2 separate regions of the Homo sapiens genome follow, and region 2 is linked to region 1. The links are contacts of gene promoters, found by promoter capture Hi-C in human tissues and cell types (Jung and others, 2019). All regions are on one chromosome and are shown on one strand. Each heading gives the region's core, a stretch centred on a gene start or on the middle of the fragment in contact. The rest is flanking DNA. Distances are from core to core; before and after follow the strand shown.

Evidence for each region. The method cuts DNA at HindIII sites, captures the fragments that hold promoters and counts their contacts. A contact is called where the count stands out against the background at its distance.
Region 2: a fragment that was not itself captured here is called in contact with the fragment with the promoter of ADIPOR2 in region 1 in 1 of the 25 tissues and cell types used here (adrenal gland).

What each region holds. Positions count from the first base shown.
Region 1 is chr12:1,689,445-1,692,823 of GRCh38, forward strand. It overlaps ADIPOR2 (adiponectin receptor 2), which reads left to right and starts at 1,626. Exons shown (of 8, transcript NM_024551.3): 1 at 1,626-1,747. RefSeq lists enhancers at 1,129-1,288, 1,309-1,358, 1,442-2,020 and silencers at 1,519-1,818, 1,839-1,928. The HindIII fragment of the contact is 10,259 bases long and covers 1-2,803 here.
Region 2 is chr12:1,102,022-1,105,400 of GRCh38, forward strand. ERC1 (ELKS/RAB6-interacting/CAST family member 1) reads left to right here. Exons shown (of 19, transcript NM_178040.4): 4 at 2,729-2,803. Among named protein-coding and RNA genes, the nearest start is that of ERC1, 110 kb to the left of the region's middle. The HindIII fragment of the contact is 5,768 bases long and covers 1-3,379 here.

The DNA of each region.
Region 1 (3,379 bases), core at 376-2,875:
CAGGTGTGAGCCACCACGCTTGGCCTGGAAACCAGTCTTTAAGAGAAAGGGATGCAGGAAAGATTGGAGATCTTTGAAGAATCTCTTTTTAAGAAAATTATCTTTTTCGCTCTAGTTCTGTCACCTTTAGTAGACTCTTTATTAAGCCTAAGAATCTTATACTTCTTATCTCTGTTCTATGTGAGTTGGTATAACGGGTCAAATTCACAATCCAGAAATGCCTGTATTGTTTCTGATGTGCTGAGGAGGTGTACAATTGTCTTCCTTGATTTCAACCTCAAAAGCTTTACATCTTTACCTGGGAACATAGAAGTCATTATTATTATGTCTTTCACAAATTATGTAAACTTAAAAAAATTATATTTTCAATGTAAACCACTCCTTGGAGGAAATTAGTTCCTTTAACATTTATTTCCTAATTTTAATTTCTACTAGTTTTATCTCTTTCAAGCTTAAATGAGTGGGCCTTAGTTCTGTATTATTGCCATCTTAATCATGTTCTTTGTGATTTTAGTAGCTTTACTTTTTAAAACTTACATTTCCATAATGAAGACTTCTGTATTTTTGTTTTTTTCGTCATATATCCGACTCCAGCTCCCTCAAGACCTGTCAGCTTTTCCCTGCACCCTTTGTTATCTCTTGCTGTGGTCCAAAGGTAAGGACAGTAAGCCGTGGGCACAGACTTTCCCTAAATCGTATGGATTTCCTTTAGTCAATAACAAGAATTTTGATAGTTAAGGCATTTACGCCTTAAGAATGTGATAAATTCCCCCTCCTACTGAATGTAAAGAACTATTTTTCTACGCAGACTAACTCTTATATTCACTTTTCTTATAGAATAAGTACGTAACCAAATCTGTTCTTGGCTTCTAAGAAGTTAGAACTCAACGTAAAGATGACTTGTGGAAAATTACTTACTCATTCTGGGTAAATGGACGCAGGTATTTAGTGCTTAAGTAGGTTCTGATATACCATTACATTAACATCATTTTAAAAATCGCTCTGAATTATATGTATTTTAAGAGTGACTGGGTTTTAAAAAAAATAGAAGTGGTAGAGCATAAATCATAATCTTTAATAAGGTAATAAAAGGCAAACACTATTGCTCTGGGCAAAACTGGGCTAATGCTTTTGGATTTCTTTCCGCAGTCTTCACAGACGACGCTCAGCATCCTATCAGCCCTTGGCAGAGACACACGATCCAGCCTAAATCCTCAAATTCTGGCTCTTGCCCAAAGTGTGTAGCCAGTATCCATAGAGACTGCGAAAAGCATCCGCGAGCCGGGGCGGCCCCCTCCTCCTCAGCTCCAAATTGCTTCCTTTTTCGGTGGGAGAAAAAACTCCGAGGAGTTGTGTGAGCGCCTAAGGAGCGCACGCTCCTCCGGCCCTCAACACCCAGTATAGTTTTCGCTAAGTTCCTGGCCGAACCACAGCTCCCACGATGCACCCAGGTTTTAGAGCGGTCAGAGGGGCGGCTTCCGGTTTAGGACAGCGCGGCTGCGCACGGCGTGTGGTCTTATTGGCTCGAACCGCCTCGTGCGATGCGCGTCACGGCGACGTGCGGTCGTGGGGGCGGGGAGACGCGGCGGCGGCGGTCGCTGTCGCGGCGGCGAGAGCGCGATTCCAGAAGCGGCATCGCGGCGGCGGCAGCGGCGGCGGCTACACCGGGCTTGGCCCCCTCCCTCCTCCGTTCCCCCCTCCTCCCCCCTCCCCTCAGCGGTGGCTCCCAAGAAGTCCGAGACACGCGGTGAGGCGGCGACGGGCTCCGGGTGAGGGTCTCTGGAGTGTGGGCGCCGTTTCCTGGGCGCAGAGGGAGAGCTTGGGGTCGGGGGGAGGTGAGAGCTGAGGGGCGAATGTCCCTGGCGCGGGCGGGAGAGCGCGCTCTCGGCCCGGCCCGCAACTTGATTCCTAACTCTGACCTGCCGCCCGGCGCGCCTTGGCCTGAGGGTCGGCCGTGTGGGGACCTGGAGCCGCCCTCCTTGCGACCGCTGTCGGAGGAGTCCGGCGCCCGCTGTTCCCCTCGCCTCGCCTTTCGCGGCGGAGGGTCGGAGCCTGCTGCCCTCTGCTCACCTTCGGGTGCAGTTGCTCCAGCTCCCTGCCCGCGGAGAGGATCTGCCCGCCCCTCTTCGTCTCTTGTCTGTTTTTATCACTTCTAGGAATTTGTTTGGTGGAGGCTTGGGATGGGCTCTCTCAGCGCTACTTTCACAGTGACTGGGGTGGGGAAGAGTTCCCTCACCTTTTTCAGGTGGCGCGTCAGGCAGCCTGCTTGGTACCTGGAGTCCTGTTTTCCCAAGCCCCCGTCCGTCAGTGTTCGCTTCTTCTAAAATTACCGATGACAGGGTTATAAATCAGTTTTTAGGGGGCTCGGAGAGAGTTTGGGTTGGAAACTGTTAGCTCTTTTTTCCTCCTGGCTTTTGATCTTGATTTAAGCGTTTGCCTCTGAAATTTTGACAACTTCATAAGATGGTCCAAAAGTGAATTTTGGTAGAAAGATTTAAATGCACAGTTGGGATTTTATGGGGGTACGGTGACTTCATTGCAGGTTGTTGACTTTTTTTTTAAAATAAGATGTTCTTTTAATTTTTTGACTCTGGGTTTCTGAGCCTTGGTTATTGTCCCCCATTTCTGTTCCAAAAGCAGACTTTTTTTTTTTTTATCACCCCTTCCCCTCACCCAGAGAATCCCTTTAAACGCCAAGAAAGCTGTCATAACATTTAGCATTATTTGATCACAGAACTTTTCCAAATGAAATGCTAAAAATTCCTTCAGAAAAAAGCATCCATCTACCCATAGCATTATTTTTTGGGGGGAGGCTATACGTCTTGTCAGTTCTGAAAGTTTGAAGTGACCTCTTATCAAAGGCCACCCTTATGTCTCCTTAAACGACTCTTAGGTAATTCCTAGATGTTTTCATCCGTTCTGATAAATTTGTTGTCAGAGTGTTGATTGTGATGATCTGCAACTAAAATTATTTCATCAGTAAAGATTTCCACACATGTGGCAGCTGCTTGTTGGTGAATTATGAAATTTGAAAAAATTGCAAATTAAATGTGAAAGGCATATTTCTTTTAACTTCTGATTGTAACTGTCTGTCCTCCAGTATACGTTCCTATCTAGACTTTGGTCTGCTTAGCAGATTTCCTCTTTTCACTTGACACTAGGAATGGGAGTAGGATTTCCAGAGCCTAAAAGAGAGTTTGTTTTTTTTTTCTATCCCTAGGCTCCTTGTATGAATTTATAAATAAATGGTTTTTTCTATCAATAGTATCAATTTAGCTGGTGCACTTTTTTTTTTTAGTATAAATCACATTTTGTTTCCTAAAATGAAAATAATTTTGTTTTATTCTTTATTTCAGGGATTGACAGATTTTAAAGCCTG
Region 2 (3,379 bases), core at 286-2,785, 590 kb before region 1:
ATTTAGAAAATGTCTGCAGGTAGGAAAGGAAAAGGGTGGAGTTTAGAGCTAGGATAATTCTTTAATGGAAGCCGGTTGAAAATTTTAAAGACGTTCCTTCTTTAACTTAAATTTTTTTTTTTCTGGTACCAGCTAGAGTTTGCAAAGGAGGTGAACTGACAATAACTATTAGGTTTAGAAACAAGGAGGTTTTTTATTTGCTATTTTAGATCGTATGGTTCAGTGGAGAGGTGAGGATAGAAACTGGCTGATCATTCATTCATCATTCATTCCTTCATCTAACAAAAGAGGAACAGATAGAGAGGAGAAGTAATTTTTAACGACTGCTTACATATCAGACAGTGCCTGAGGAATACAGAAGACAGTTTCTAAAAGAGTTCACAGTATGGTATGTTAGAGAAGAAAAACTATTGCTAATACAATGGGGTAAGTGCTCATGGAGCTATGTAAGCTGTGTAGCATGCTGTATGAGAAATAGGAGGTGTACAAAATTCAGCACAGGAGTAGGAAGGGACTAAAATATTTCCTTTCTAGCTAATTCTTGAACGTTTGGTAGCCATTTCATTCATTCAGTATTCATTCCTTAAATGTCTATTAAGCGCTTACCAGTGTGGCAGCTACTGTTGTAGGTGCTTTGGATCCATCAGTGAATGAATGAAACAAAGATCTTAGCTTTTGTGGAGCGTACATTCTCGTAGAGAATAATAAGTAAACATAATAAATCATAAAATATGTTAGAGGGTAAGTGCTATACACAGGAAAAAGTAGAGCGAAGTAAAGGGGAAGGACACATGCGTTCTTTTTTGGCTGTGTTAAATTTTAAAATAAGGTGTAGATTATACTGAAAACGTTGAACATTCATTTTGTTATGAAAAATTTCAAGCCTACACAAAAGCAGTAAGAACTGCATGATGAATCTCCACATGCTCATCACTCAGATACACCAGTTTCGAAAATTTTGCCACACTTCCTCCATGTATTCTTTTTTCTTTTTCCTCTTTTCTTTACCAAAGATTTTAAAGCCAATCCCTGGCATGACGTCATTTTCCTCTGCAGACTTTAATATGCGTCTCTAAAATATATGGACATTTTCTTGCATAGCGACAATGGCATTATCACAACAACTAAACCTAATACTAACACAAAAGAGGCATTTGAGCCAAGACTGGAAAGAAGTGAAGTCTTCCCCTAGCAGCTTGTGCAAAGGGCTTAAGGATCAGGAGCATGCTTAGCATATTTGAGGAGCAGCAAGGAGTCCATAGTGGCTAAAGCATGGAGACCCAGGGAAGAGCGATGAGATGAGGCCTTTGCAGGCTGCCGAGAGGACTTGGGCTCTAGTTGGAGTCGAATGGGGAGCCATGACAGGGTTTTCAGCAGAGGACTGACAAGGACAACTTTATGTTTACAAGGGTCACTTGAAGTGCTCCATTAAGAAAACACTGTAGTGGAGCAAGATAAAGCAGAGCTCAGTTAGAAGGTTGTTATGGATTAAAAGGTATATTTTTGTTTAGTGGTTCATTCCAGGTGGTGGCCGTGGAGATGGCAAGAAGTGCTTGGATTTTGGGTATGTTTTGAAGCTAGAGCTAACTGGATTTCCTGACTGCGGCTTGAGAGCGAAAGGAAGGCATTAAGAAGACTCATAGGTTTGTGGCCTGAGTAACAGGAAGGATGGAGCAGGTTTGGGGGCACCATCAGGAGTAGAGATGACATCTTGCCATGTTGCCCAGGCTGGTCTCGAACCCCTGGGCCAAAGTGACCCTCCTGCCTTGGCCTCCCAAAGTGCTGGGATTACAGGTATGAGTCATCACGCTTGGTCAGGAGTTGAGTTTTGAGCATGTAGAGTTTGAAATGTTTGTTGGACATGAAAGTGAGATGACTAGGTGGATAGTTAAAGCTGGAAGTAGGGAGAGAGGCAGCAGAAAGCATTCATCTCTGTATTCCCTGGATTCCCAAGAGCCTGTCCCCAGGGTACTTGGAAGTACTGACTGATTTATTTAGAGACATTCACAGAGTCTGACAAGAAAATCACTGAAGTGGTTTGGTAACCTGGAAGGCTCTGATATCCCTTCCTTCCTTTTCTATCCTGAACTCAGTAAAATTTGGGTAAAAAAAAAAAAAAAAGCTATGTTTTTCTGACATTTTCTGAACCTGAACTACTTAGGAAACTTGTTCAACAGTGTCATGTTTTTCTTCCTAACTGTAGCACCACTAGAGAGCGAGCTTCATCGTAGGTAACCAGGTGGTGGTTATTCTGGGGGTGGATGCCGTGGAAAGGATGTTGTCAACACAGATTGCTTTCCACAGCTGCAGTCAGCAATGCAGACTGATTGTGATGGTATTTATTTCTCCTTTTAAAAGGGAGCATTTCTAATCCCCATTTTGGATCATTTGGAATTCTGATTATATTTCCCGGAGTTATGTGGAAGATTGACACACAACCTGAGGATGTGAAATCGTAGTTTCAGCTGTTATGGTAGCTCGTGTCTGTGTGACTGATTTTAAATAACTAGGTGTTCAGAGATAGGGATCCTCCTATGCCTGCATGGTTGAGTGAGCCTGAATGCAGTCTGTGGATTCCCTGATTCACAGGGAAAGGTTGGTAACACAGAAGGGGTCATTGTCTCATAAGGCTGTAGTGATCTTTTGCATACATCGGCTCTCACTCCTCTTTGAAAAAAATGAGGGTGAACAGGAGAGCACTGAATCTCTTTCTGCCTCTTTTCTACAGGAGATGCATCGAAGGTTTGAGAATGCTCCTGATTCTGCCAAAACAAAAGCTCTGCAAACTGTTATTGAGATGAAGGTAAGTGAGAATCTAGTAAAGAATCTTATGAATTACCTTATACTTTTAAGTGATCAAAAACTTCCATGTGTGAGTGTTAGGAAATGGCATGTAATAGTATTTCACTTATTTGGAGATTAAGAGTGAGAATCAATGAAAATGACATCTTAAAAGAATTTCAGTTTTATTTCCTTTTACTTGTAGACCATAATTCAAATTGGACCAAAAAGAGTTGAACAGAATTTCTTTAAATCAGCTATTCGCAGATGTCTTGGTCTCAGGACCCCTTTATTCTCTTAAAATGACAGACTCACTTCCTTCATTTTAAGAAAATGTCTGCCAGATACCAAGTCTGGGTAACCATAGCTTGTCAGTTTTCTTTCAAGTAAAAATAGTGTTCCGTGAAGAAAATACTGAATTCAGTTTACAACTCAAAGCAACACGAGTCCTGTGCTTAGGGACAGCCATCGTATTTCAGTACGCAGCTTCATTCCATTTGTCACACACAATATTAAAAGTATGTGTACTCCAGAGTTGAGATTTTTTTTTATTATTTTTTATTTTTATTTTTTGAGATGGAGTCTCGCTCTGTCGCCT